3 separate regions of the Homo sapiens genome follow, and regions 2 and 3 are each linked to region 1. Evidence: promoter capture Hi-C in 16 types of primary human blood cells and fetal thymus (Javierre and others, 2016). All regions are on one chromosome and are shown on one strand. Each heading gives the region's core, a stretch centred on a gene start or on the middle of the fragment in contact. The rest is flanking DNA. Distances are from core to core; before and after follow the strand shown. Region 1 holds the start of UTP3 (UTP3 small subunit processome component). Region 2 overlaps SULT1B1 (sulfotransferase family 1B member 1). Region 3 overlaps SLC4A4 (solute carrier family 4 member 4).

Region 1 (4,384 bases), core at 1,380-3,879:
AAAGTATAATTAAAAAAAAAAAAGAAAAGAAAAATGGAACATTGAGCTGGGCGTGGTGGCTCACACTTGTAATCCCAGCACTTTGGGAGGCCGAGGCGGGCAGATCACTTGAGGTCAGGAGGTCGAGACCAGCCTGGCCAAAATGGTGAAACCCTGTCTCAACTAGCAATACAAAAATTAGCTGGGCGTGGTGGCAAGCACCTGTAATCCCAGCTACTCAGGAGGCTGAGGCAGGAGAATCGCTTGAACCCGGGAGGTGGAGGTTGCAGTGAGCTGAGAGATCCTGCCACTGCACTCCAGCCTGGGCTACAGAGTGAGACTTCAATCTCGAAAAAAAAAAAAAAGAAAAATGGAACTTTGTTGCCACTTAAAGTTACCACTTACCTGGTAGTAATCATATCAAAGTTTTAGCAAATGGAGTGCAAGTACAAGCAGCAACCACTGCAAATCACCAGTAAAGAAGGGGAAATGGGATTTTTACCTTATTTGCCACATGAAGAACTATGAGAAAATATTGACAATTGATGTAATTAAGGCATATCTTTTCCTTTTTCTGCTTTTAACCAAAGTTTCATTCCTATGCTTTTAAACCACACAGAACATATGAAATCCATGTTAACATTAAGCCCATTTATTAACAAGTATCTGGCCCAATAATTATAGTTAGGTAAATAAAATACTTCAGAACTATTTTATAGGCTGCCTTACAAATAAGATAACTGTCAAAGATGCATTCTCTTTATGTGAAAAGTTACACATGTTCTAAGTTTAACACTCCACAATGAACTGTGAAATTTCCCTAAGCTAATACTTAATATTGGAAAACTTCAACAGAATATTGGAAAACTTCAACATCATCTCTTTTCTCAAGCACCTTCATATTGCTCCCATAGTTCTTATAAATTGTCCAATAACCCAGACAAATTTCCTTGTGGACAAGAATTTTTAAAATTTAAAGTATTATATATTAATACAATGACTTTAGTTAAAAGTAAAAATTTATTGATCCAAAACTGCCAAAAACCTTATGCTAAGCAAAAACTTCATTTAAGCTTAATGCTCTTTTTAACTCCTGCACGAATGCCAGATAATTCACCACTATAACGTTGCTCTTCTTTACGAACTTCACGAACCTGGCCTCTTCTTCTAATTTTGGCTCTTCTGAACTTCTCTCTGTGTTTCACTCTGGGATTGCGATCAATCTTCTTTCTCCTAGGAGTAAGTCCCCTATTTTTAGCAATTTGATAGGTAATAGCTCTCTTTGCATTTTGATCTTCAAGAGCCTGTTCTTCAGTGCTATTTTCTTCTTTCTTTCTCTTTAGCTTTTGCCTGTCTTCTATTTCTTTATAGTACTTCAGTTTTGCTTTTTCATCAAAATCAGAATCATCAGAAAGATCTGTAACAGCACAGGCAGCAGCAGAAGTCTTTGAAACAGACTTTGGTTTGGGCTTGGTGGATTTTGCTTTTGGAATCAGTTCTTTCTTTACAGCATCATCCTTAAGTGTCAACAGATGACGAATTTCTGAGGACAGCTTCTGATCCACAACGGACAGCTTGTTGATCAAATTTCGGTAGGTAACAAGCCTTTCTATGACAGGATGTCCATGTGCTGGGACTCTCCTAGCTTTCAGGATCAAATAAAAACTGATGTTCGAGCAATAATTCAAGTAGAGGTTGTACTTGGTCCTCAAGTATTGGCTTCCTTTTCCGGGTGGAATGATCCCTTGTTCCACCAACTCTAACAATGGCTCCAGCTCATCCTTAACCTCTGTCAACTTGACTTTCAGGTCTTCTATCAGCTCCAAGAGTTCTGGTGATTCCTTTCGCAACATTTTCAGCTTCTCTTTCACTGAAACTTTAGCCAAATCCTTCACGACCCGTGTCTCAGCCTCATCTACCTGAGGCACTGGTTTTGCAAAGGCCTCAACCCAGGCGACACCAAAATCATCCTCTTGCAGCGCTTGGGCTAGGCGCCGCTGAATGATCTGTGCCTCCTCCTCCTCCTCTCTTTCCTCCTCCTCTGCCTCCTGTTGACTCTGCCGGCCTCGGGACTTGGAACCATAGTCCGTGTCATAGTAAAGTTTTTTCCTCTGACCCCACGACAAACTGGGATCCACAGAGGCCTCAGCTTCACTTTGCACGGAGCTCCCACCATCATCATCGGCATTCTCCTCCTCCTCCTCCTCCCCCGCATTCCCTCCATCTTCGTCGTCCTCATCGTCCATATCTAGGGCTAGCACCTCCTCCTCCTCCTCCTCGCCATCCTCCTCGTCTCCACTCTGTACTTCATTCCAGCCCTTAGCTAAGGCGGCCCGGGATCGTGCCTCATGAAAGTCATCTACCTGATCTTGGTAGTAGCTGGTGTCCCCTGGTGAGGGTGGCAATCCTAAATCATCTCCATTTTCGTCGGTGAGCGTGGGACCTGCCTTGGCTCGCACAGCTGCCCACTTAGCTGCTCCGCGCCGCCGGGATCTCCCCACCATGGCTCACAATCTCAGGTTTTACAGCGACTCCGGACTTTCGGCCACCACTGACTTCGGCGCAGGAATCAGGCGCTCCGGTAACTCGTGGCTCTAAACAGCAGCGCGCTCCCCTACCACCGGAGTTTGCAGACTCCTGATCGGCTACTGGAATTTCCTCTTCCTTCCGGCCCCCAGCATGCTCTCCGCGTGGCGTACGATTGAGGACTTCCGCTCGGTCCCTTAGTCGAGATCACGTTGATACCAACTTCCTTTTCACTGTGCCCTTTAACGCCAGTCGATTCCGGTGAATTAAAATCTTTCCGTGTGGAAACGATAGGATAAGGAAGTTCCGTTCCACAGAACGCTTTCTCGGGCTAATGCGCTTACTCTCGAGTGCCTGGGAGTGGCTGGGGGACGGAATCCTGACGGCACCTCCAGGCGAGGTCCCGATGGCCAATAGAGGGCGCTGCGCTTTACGCCCCGGAGAAGTCCCGGGGGCGTTCCATTGAGGTTTAACTGCGTGTGTACCCGGCGCTTGCGACCGGCAGTCTAGTGCTAGCGTAGTTTTCCTGCTCCCTTGTTTTCTCTTTTCTGCTTATCAGGCTGGAAGTTAATCAGATTGCTTTCCTCTCATTTCACCCCCACCCCCAATACCATATTTCTGGGTACCACAGCCTCAGGCAGCGCCGCTGGACTCCAGAATCCCACGGGAGGTTTCCGGGCGAGAGCGCAGGCCGGGCCTCCGGCTCGGGTTTACTCATCCCCATCGCCCTCTCCCTGCTCACAGGGCTCGGTGACCCGCTCCATGGGGATCGATAAAGCTAGATGACCCCGAGGCTGACAGTGGGAAGGCAGAGCCCCGCTGCAGGGTCTGACTCTTCTCAAGGAAGTCTGCCCTGTAATGTTAGAGTAATTCAGGGTGTAAGTTTTTAGGCATTACATATGTAAGGTTCAGGGTTAGTATTATTATACCTTTTAATGTAGGTAGTTGGAAGCTGAACTTTTGATACGTTGCTAAAATTAATGGTGACATGGCTGGGCGCGGTGGCTCATGCCCATAATCCTAAGCACTTTGGGAGGCCGAAGTGGGTGGATCACTTGAGGTCAGGAGTGCAAAACCAGCCTGGCCAACATGGGGAAACCCAGTCTCTACTACAAATACAAAAAATTAGCGGGGCGTGGTGGCGGGTACCTGTAATCCCAGCTACTCGGGAGGTTGAGGCAGGAGAATCACTTGAACCCGGGAGGCGGAGGTGGCAGTAAGCCGATATCGCACCACTGCACTCTAGCCTGGGCGACAGACAGAGACTCTGTCTCAAAATAAATAAATAAATAAATAAAATAAAATTAATGGTGACAATTTCTTTTTCTTTTGTTTTTTGTTTCTTTTTTCTTTTTCTTTTTTTCTTTTTTTTTTTTTGAGACGGAGGCTCGCTCTGTTGCCAGGCTGGAGTGCAGTGGCAATCTCGGCCCACTGCAACCTCCGACCCCCTGGTTCAAGTGATTCTCCTCCCTCAGCCTCCCGAGTAGCTGGCATTACAGGCACGCGCCACCACTCCCAGCTAATTTTTGTATTTTTAGTAGAGACGGGGTTTCATCATGTTGGCCAGGATGGTCTCCATCTCCTGACCTCGTGATACGCCCGCCTCGGCCTCCCAAAGTGCTGGGATTGATTACAGGCGTGAGTCACCGCGCCCAGCCAATGGTGACAATTTCTTTTCAGAAAGTATAGTGTCATTAGGTTAATAAAAATAATGCAAAATGTTAGAAAAGTGATACTTTGAAATAAACATTTTCCAAGTGCCTAAAGGTGTCCGAAACATTTTGAAATTTTTACAAGATTTTAGAAAATAAAATTAAATTAGAAAGTTGTGGGCAAAAGTTATGTTCTGATGGTAAGCATGAATTTATTTTTTAATGTA
Region 2 (4,384 bases), core at 1,156-3,655, 930 kb after region 1:
TTGTTTGTGGGTCCACAAATTACTTACAAAATATTTACCAGAAACTATTATACTTAATCAATTAAGAACCTCTGATTGGCAATCTTTAAAGTTATTTTACTAGAAGCAATGCGATTTCATCTAAGATATTATGCAATTTATGCTGCAATTAGTTCAAATTCTATCTATACAATAGTAAACATGTTATATGTTATTAAATTAACAGATCTTAAGAAATAAATGGAACATCGATTATGAAGGAATCTATAAATTGTAAAATAAATAAAGTTGATGTAAAATGAAAAAACATTATTAAAAGCAAGGCTATGGTTTTACTTACAAAGTTCAGTGGAAATAGTGGAAAAAATAAATAATAAGTAGCTCTTTGTGATGCCAATTTTATGTGTCCAATTGATGGGGCCACAGGAAACCCAGATGTCTGATGAAAAATTACTTTGTGTGTGTGTGTGTGTGTCTGTGTGTGTGTGTGTGTGTCTGTGAGGGTGTTTTCAGATGAGATTAAAATTTAAATTGGCAGATTGAGTACAGCAGATTGCCTTCCCTAATGTGAATGGGACTCACGCAATCAGTTGAAGGCCTGAATAGAACCAAAAGGGTGACTCTCCTGGAAGTAAAGAGGAATTCTTCCTGTCTGACTGCCTTTGAACACATACATATATGACATTATTTTAGAGGCAGGTATGCAGGCATATTCCAGGATATGTAGGGTGACCTGGAAAACTGGAGACCCAGTAGAGCTGATGGTTTAGCTCTAGTCAAAAGGCTGGCAGGCTGGAGATCCAGGAAGAGCAATGCTTCAGTTTGAGTCTGCAGGCAGGAATAAAGAAACAAACAAAAAACAACGATGTTTTGATTAAAGCTCAAAGGCAATTAGGTAGAAGGAATACTCCTAGGAGCATCACCCTTTTTGTTCTACTCAGACTTCAACTAATTGGCTGAAGATCACCCACTTAGGCAGGACAATCACTCAGTCTACCAATTTAAATATTAATCTAGTCCTAAAACACCAATACAGAAACACTCTGAGTAGTGTTTGGCCAAATGTCTGGGGACTCCTTGGCACAGTCAGGTTGACACAAAAAATTATCAATGACAGCTTCTAATCAAGAAGAAGTTAACAGGAACACCAAGCATCCAATAAAAAATTATCAGACATGTAAACAAGGAGAAAAAGCCTACCATAATGAGAAAAAAATCAATCAATTGAAAACAACATAGAATTACCCAGATGTTAAACAAAGAAAAAAATCATTATAACCGTACTTAGTATGCTTAAAAAGTTGAGAACAAAAAAATAAACATATTGAAATTGAACAGCCAGAGATTAAAACTACAAAGCCAGAGATAAAAATACACTGGATAGGAGTAAAGACAGATTAAACATTGCAGAAGAAAAGGTTAGTAATTACAAAGACATAGCAATAGAGAATATCCCAAATGAAACACACACAGAGAAAAGCTTTTTAAAAAACTAAATAGATAATCTCTCAGCTGTGGGCAACTTCATATGGCCTAATATACATGTAATTATAGTCTCAGAAGGAGAGAGAGATGGAAAAAATATTTGAAGAAATAATGGCTGAAAATTATCCAAATTTGATGGAAACCGTAAACTCACAATTTCAAGAAGCTCAATAAAGCTAAAATGTATACGCGCGTGCACACACACACACATGAAAATAACCACACCTAGGAACATTATAATCTACTTGCTCAAAATAAGTGATAAAGAAAGAAACCTTAGAAGCACACAAAGAAAAAGGATGAATTACAAACTGAAAATCAAAGGTCAGAATGACAGCAAATTTTCTGTAAGGAAAAATGACGTGTAGCTGAAGTCTTAATAATGAGCAGTGGATTTATTTTGCCTTAAGTCAGATTGTTCAGATTGTTTTTGCCATATTTCTGTGAAACACGCTTTTTAATTCAAAGAGAGATATGCAGTTTCATTTCTTTCCAAAACTTCCACTAGAGACCTTTGTCCTGCTTGTCACAGAGCCAGTTACTGCTCTTGCAATCTACTGCACCTAATGCCCACAAAATATGCCCTTTGTACTTAGATCTCCATGTGCGCAGAATGTTAAAGGCCAATTTTACTTTGTGACAAATTGCAGTGTCTTAAGACCAACATTAGTTACTCAGATTCTGATTTTTATTCTCTATATTTCTCCAGAACAACTGTCAATCTATTATATATTTGTACAATCTGGTATTAAAATGCTTTCCCCAAAAGATATTCTGCGAAAAGATCTGAAGTTGGTCCATGGTTATCCCATGACCTGTGCTTTTGCAAGCAACTGGGAAAAAATTGAACAGTTCCATAGCAGACCAGATGACATTGTGATAGCCACTTATCCTAAATCAGGTGAGTTCTGTGGCCTGACAAATTCAAGTCCGACCTCATTTTTTGTTTCCTGGAAATCAACTTGTCCATAAAATCATTACCATTCTAAATAAAGTTAATATTCATTTTGTGCAGCCATCTATTTTAGTATATTAAAATTGGCATTTGGTGCATAGAAAGGGGAATTAAGTTTGTAATAGAATGTGTTAAGATGGTAGTGTTTCCAATAAATTCTTCTCCCTCTCCCGTGCAATTTGGGTAATTATTTTGAAAATGTTGCCTTTTGTCACAGGTACTACTTGGGTTAGTGAAATTATAGACATGATTCTAAATGATGGAGATATTGAAAAATGTAAGCGAGGTTTTATTACTGAAAAAGTTCCAATGTTGGAAATGACTCTCCCTGGATTAAGAACATCAGGTAAATTTAACCCACTTGGAATTATTATTTTGTAATATTATTTAGACAGCATATGCATTATTGTATGTGTGACTTTCACTGAAACCGGAGTAGATTTGGTGACATAAAATGGAAGGTGGCAAACAATATAAAACTGAAGAATAAGAAGAAACTTTATTTTTATCTGTTGTACATCCAGGTATGATATCAAAGATGAAAGAGTCTTACTGTACAAAACAATTAAAAATTTGATTGATAAAATAAACAATATTTTTAAGACTTTTATTTGGTAGAATTTGTCTGATTAGATTAGTAAGTTCCTAATTTAGGACTTTGTTGTAATTAATAAATAAGAAGCAACTTTTCTTAAAACATAAAATTCACTAATACTATTAATTTTTCTTCCACAAAATATTTATGGAATGCTTGTAAAGAATTATTCACTGTGCTATGGTATAGATATATAAGATTAGAAATTGTATATTGTATCACAGGGAGCTTACAGCAATATTGTGACGTCAAAAAGTAAATAACAATATGTCAATGTTCATAGTCTTACATAGTCAAATAATAGGGTTCTGTGGAAGCGAACAATAGGAAAGCTTACTTTAAGTGGGTAATAAAGGAAAAAAACTTAGACAAATTAAATGAGTTTAATTGAGCAAAGGACAATTCACAAATCAGGCAGCCTCTTGAGCCAAAATAGCCTCAGAGATTCCAGAATAGCTACATGGTTTATGGAAGGAAGGAATGTGACATACAGAGAACAGACTTGAGATATAGAAACAGCTGGTTTAGTTAAAGTTTAGTGTCTGACTTATTTGAACACAGTCTGAAGAGCTGGCCACCTTTGATTGGCCAAAACTTGGTGATTCGCACAAGGGTAGAATGTAATATGTTTACACATCCAGTTAGGTTACAATTCACTATGTATAGAGAAACCTTTAAGCCAAACTTAAAATGTGTAAGATGACAGCTTTAGTCTAAACTTAATTTAACAAGGGGTATCTACTCCAAATTGAGATTAAAAAGTTGTACATACTTGGGGAAAGAATATCCCAGGATACAGTCCTGGAAAGCATATTCCAGGAAGATCTTGATATAGTCCGGAGACTAAAATGATCCATGAAAGAAGGAAAAAGTGGGATGCAAAACAATTGGAAATTAGGCTAGGATAGACCATGTAGGACTTGTAATTCTTAAAACATTTTCTCATTTTATTCCAAGAACATTGAGGAAGATATTGAAGGGTTTTATGCAAAGAAAAATTATATAGAGTTTTTGTTTTTTGTTGTTGTTTTAAATACAAAGACTCCACAGGTTGCTTGGTAGAGGTGGAATTGAGGATGCTAGATAAGACATATTTGTGACTTGTTGATGGACTGTAAAAGAAATATGAAGAAAATGAAAGAAAAATGACAGTTTTATTTTTCATCAAGCAAGTGGACTATGGAACCATTCGCTTGCAAGGAAAAGTACTTGGAGAGGAACACATTTGGGTGTAGGGTTATTAATAATTCAATTGTGAAATGTTAGCTTTGTGACATTGGAGAAAATTATAATGAATTAAAATGATGGTATTTGGAGCTTGTAAAAATATATTCATTAGGCAATGCTCAGCATAATTGGACATTGGAATC
Region 3 (4,384 bases), core at 1,170-3,669, 570 kb before region 1:
GCCTCAAGTTTTTGGCATTACCTGTGTATGATGGATAGGAAAAGATAAGCTTGAAGAAGGCAATCATAGTAACTCAAAATAATAACTGCTAACCATTATTGCTGACTACATGCAGTGCTCACTTCATGTTCAGAATACTATGATTAAAATCGATCATCCCCTTTTTACATATGAGGAAACTAGAGCACAAAGAAGTTAAGTAAATAACCAAGGTTACACTGCTGGTATGAACTGGGATTCAAACTCAAGTAATCTGGCTCAAATATGCACTCTTAACCACTCTGATATGCTCCCTTTCCAGCAAAATTACAACACAAGTGTCCCTTCTGAAAAGGCAAACTGTAAGTTTTAAAACATTTTTTAATATAAAAAGCTTTTGTACTCAGACCTAAAGACAAAGTACTTCCTCCTACTTATATAAGGTGAAAAATAGAGAAGGGGATGAAAGAGATGGTATAGTTTTATTGTGTTTGTGTTTTGTTTTTTAAACTGGGACAGGTCTACCTCATTTTCATACATTTCCAAAGCCTTTTCTCCTATATATAGATCGATTTTTGAGAATACCAATGGCATGTAGAAAATTAAAGAAACCTTATTTTATGGTATCAAAATTAAGGATCTTGCCTGAAAACATTTTAAAAATCAAGAAAAAGTACAAATGTACCAAGAAGTATGAGGTCAGGTTGGGAGGGGTGTGCACTGGGAAAAGGGGAAGTCAAATGACACAACACCAAATATTCTTGGCTCTTATGAAAAGCTACTCTGTTCATTTACCCGGAAGCACCAAACAAAAGCAGCTGCCCATTTCTCTGTTTCAGTTTCCTGAATATAACTGGATCACCAACCAGCATCCATTGTCCCAGGCTCACAGAACAATGTTCACTAGCATAAATCCATCAGTTCTGGTACACATCCAAAAAGCTAAAAAAGAATACCACAAGACTGAATGAGTGTCTGTATGGACATACCTAGCGCTATGATTCCACAACGGGCAAGACCTGTGTGTGAGAGGCAGTTAGCACCTCCAAGCATGAATGCATGTTCATGCTTGTCAAGAAATATCTTACACATCAGATCAAAATGCTGAACACGATGTTCTGTTTGTAGCTTTGTTTCCTACCATCTTACACATCTTCAGGATCTCTACAGTCACAAAGTAGCCTGTGATGCCCCCATAAGTATCCCTGGACACTAACAAAATGGGAGGCACAGAGGCCAAAACCATGTAGGCTGGGAAGGTATGCTGTGTTTCCAAAGCCTATCTCAGCCAGGACCACCTTCCCACCCACTTTTTGGGCAACCCTCAGAGGATGGCAGCTGCTAACTTAGAAAAAAAAAATGCACAGTGGAGGAGGCAAAAGGATTATTTTTAAGAAAGAGCACAATCTAACTTTTCTCTCAACCACCCACTCCACACCACCTCCTCATTCCCTTGTCTCTCCTGCTTGTTCTTCCATTTCACTTTCCTTCCCCAGCTTCTCTCTCCCCATGGCTCAGTGCACCACGCTCTCACACACGTTTCCTTCTCTGTGTCCCCAGCTGGGACACCAGCTCTGACGCCACACTGGGAATAGCAGCTGTGAAAGGACTTGGAGCTGCTGCTGAGCTCAGAGGGGGATACGAAGCTAGCTCGCTTCCTCCTCAGAGCTCCAAATGTGTAAAAATCAAACACTCATTTATTTTTTAGAAACCCGGTCTTGACACCAAAGCCATGAAGAAAATAGAAAGCGTTAGGTTATAAACTAAATGAACCTGTTAATTATGCCATCTCCTTAATGTGCCTAAATACTGGAAGATATTTCGTTTACTTCTTATAAATGCCCTTTCATGTTTTTGTAGAGACAGGGTCTCACTATATTGCCACGGATGAAGCACAGCAGCTATTCACAGGGGCAATCATAGAGCACTACAGCTTCAAACTCCTGGGCTCTGATGATCCTCCCACCTCAGCCTCTGGAGCACCTGGGACTATAGGCATGTGCCACGGTGCCAGCTCATGTCACCTTAATATGGCTTCTGAAGGGGGGCTGCCTGCTCTGTGGAACAGTGAGCATTTTTAAGTGTATATAAAAAATTAATGTGCCTTGCGGTTCAGTTTCATCCCTCACCTGTGGTTAACAAGCAGCTGCACACACTTGGGAGTTACCTACCCAGACCAAAATCCCACTTTGGCGATAGACAAAATAATGAGGCACTTTCCAAAGTGGGATAATTAAAAGCGAAGACCAGATTTTATGTGCCAAGGGAGAAAGGCAGGGCAGGGAAATATAAATACGATGTTCCAGGCTTAAAAACAAGAAAATCAGCTGGATCTCTATCTAGGATATAAGAAATATTTAGACCAATTAAAGCAATGCTTACGTCTTTCTCTGTAGTAATTCATTCATTCAGTTACTCCTCAATAAACACGTATGAAAAACACACTATGTGCCAGGCATTGTGCGGCGCCAAAGATAACAAAGTGAACAAGACAACCTGATCTTTGCTCTCACGGAGTTTACAATCCAGCAACAGCTCAAGACAAACCTGTAAGCTCTCAAAAATCACATGTTAAAACATATATTCTGAAGGAAACATAAGGCGTTGGGAAAGAATAATGAAGGGGAATCTGCACTAGAGAGAGTAGTAAGGAAAGGACTCTCTGAAGAGGTAAAATTTAAAAGCCAGAACATACAGGAACAGAAAAACTAACCAGGACAAGAATGGGCTGACCATTTCAGGAAGACAAGTTTGCATGAACAAAGGCCCTGAGGCAGAAAAGGTTTTAGCACCAAGGAACTCCAATATCAATGTATCTGGAGTAAAGTGAGCAAGGAGAGAATGGCACATCACAGGACTAGAAAGACACTGGGCCATGATGCCCAATTGAGGTTTTATTCTTAGGACAATGGGAAGTTTTCAGCAGAGGAAGGACATGATCCAATTTACACTTTATGATGATCAATGGTGCCTCTCTATGAAGAAATACTTAAAAAGCAGAGACTGCTGCAGTGTCTATGCAAGAGGTGATGATTCCCTGGACAAAAATGTGACCGCAAAACTGAAAAGAACAGAAAAATTCAGATCTATTTTAAATGTTGAACCAACAGAAATCATTGAAGGATTGCATATGAGGGTGAGAGCAAGGAAAGAATCAAAGATGACTCCCATCAAGTTACTATTTATATGTGGGCTTTTTGGTTTTTGTTTTTCTCAGAAGTATAAGCATCACATCGCGCACTGCCAGACACATGTGGGAACCTTGTCTATGGGACGTGGTATGTCTATGGACATAAGCAACTCAAACACCATAGGTCACAGAACAACAGAAACTGTTATGTGGCTGTTCTTGAGAGACAATAATAGTATAGTAGGCAAGTATTTCATTCAGTTTTCCCACAACAATTTTGTCATCATGTTGGTGCCAGAGCCCTATGGCTTCCCCCAAAATCATGGGGTTAAATGTCTTTCTATATCTAGGTGCAAAAACTCTGACTTTTAAACAGAACTGTACCAAATAATTAACTACCAATCCATCAAAGCAGCTGAGGATATACAGCAATTTCTAAGAGAATCTTCATGTCAAATTGGATAACTCATATCAAATATGCCAAAGGCATATTAGTGTATAACATTGATCAGCAGGAACAAAACGGTAAAATGCATACTTATAAATAATTTTTTTATGATCACTGAACAATTTAGTCCTTAACAACTGTCTCTCCATAGGATCCCTTCAGAAAACCAGTATACAACATAATGCAGTATTCCCCCAGGAAGAAACCTCTGAGGGGAAAGAGAATGGATTGCCTTGTTTATTTTAAATGCTGTATTCAAACTGGTCCCCAAATGCCACAGAATGCAACAGTATTCTATGGTTGATACACATGCGGTCTCAGCATCTTCCTGATCTGTTCATTCCTTATGACCTATCTGAGTGCTGCTGGCACTGTTTCCACTGCCCTTCTCAAAAGCTGATATATAATTTTAATCTCAAAATTCCTGGGCCTATTTGTCTAGGTGAGCACCTCTTTACTTTTTAACATTAATAGTGATGATGCACTCTTGTTCTAATCTGAAGAATGAAAGACAAGTTATAAAAGACACAGAGAGGAGAGAAAGAGAGAGAGTAGACAATCACATGCACAATGGACAGAACACTTGACACTGGCTCAGGCCTTGACAGATGGATACAGAGTAAATCAAGATAAATGGTAGTCATTTATTTGGAAAAGAATGTTATCTTTTGTTCCTCCAGACTATTAACTGTGCCATGTTTATGTGCATTTTAAGGCCTTTTCTCAAAACAGACTCCACTACCTTAATCGATATGTAAAGGATCCCTTTCAGACAGACCTTCCCCCAGTACTTCAGTGAAAAGTACATAACTTGAGTCTCCTGCCTT

The links. The method cuts DNA at HindIII sites, captures the fragments that hold promoters and counts their contacts. A CHiCAGO score of 5 or more calls a contact.
Region 2: a fragment that was not itself captured here is called in contact with the fragment with the promoter of UTP3 in region 1 in 1 of 17 cell types (monocytes); the score reaches 5.6 in monocytes.
Region 3: a fragment that was not itself captured here is called in contact with the fragment with the promoter of UTP3 in region 1 in 1 of 17 cell types (monocytes); the score reaches 7.2 in monocytes.

What each region holds. Positions count from the first base shown.
Region 1 is chr4:70,686,777-70,691,160 of GRCh38, reverse strand. It overlaps UTP3 (UTP3 small subunit processome component), which reads right to left and starts at 2,629. Exons shown (of 1, transcript NM_020368.3): 1 at 610-2,629. The coding sequence starts at 2,483. The coding sequence ends at 1,044. LOC101927297 (a long non-coding RNA gene) reads right to left here. Exons shown (of 4, transcript XR_938860.3): 4 at 4,345-4,384. RefSeq lists enhancers at 2,504-2,563, 1,765-2,733, 3,264-3,353, 2,734-3,704. The HindIII fragment of the contact is 6,672 bases long and covers 1,055-4,384 here.
Region 2 is chr4:69,753,051-69,757,434 of GRCh38, reverse strand. SULT1B1 (sulfotransferase family 1B member 1) reads left to right here. Exons shown (of 8, transcript NM_014465.4): 2 at 2,174-2,365; 3 at 2,637-2,765. The coding sequence starts at 2,218. Among named protein-coding and RNA genes, the nearest start is that of SULT1B1, 5.4 kb to the left of the region's middle. The HindIII fragment of the contact is 1,887 bases long and covers 1,462-3,348 here.
Region 3 is chr4:71,256,594-71,260,977 of GRCh38, reverse strand. The region is part of intron 3 of SLC4A4 (solute carrier family 4 member 4); the gene reads right to left. Among named protein-coding and RNA genes, the nearest start is that of SLC4A4, 72 kb to the right of the region's middle. The HindIII fragment of the contact is 4,088 bases long and covers 376-4,384 here.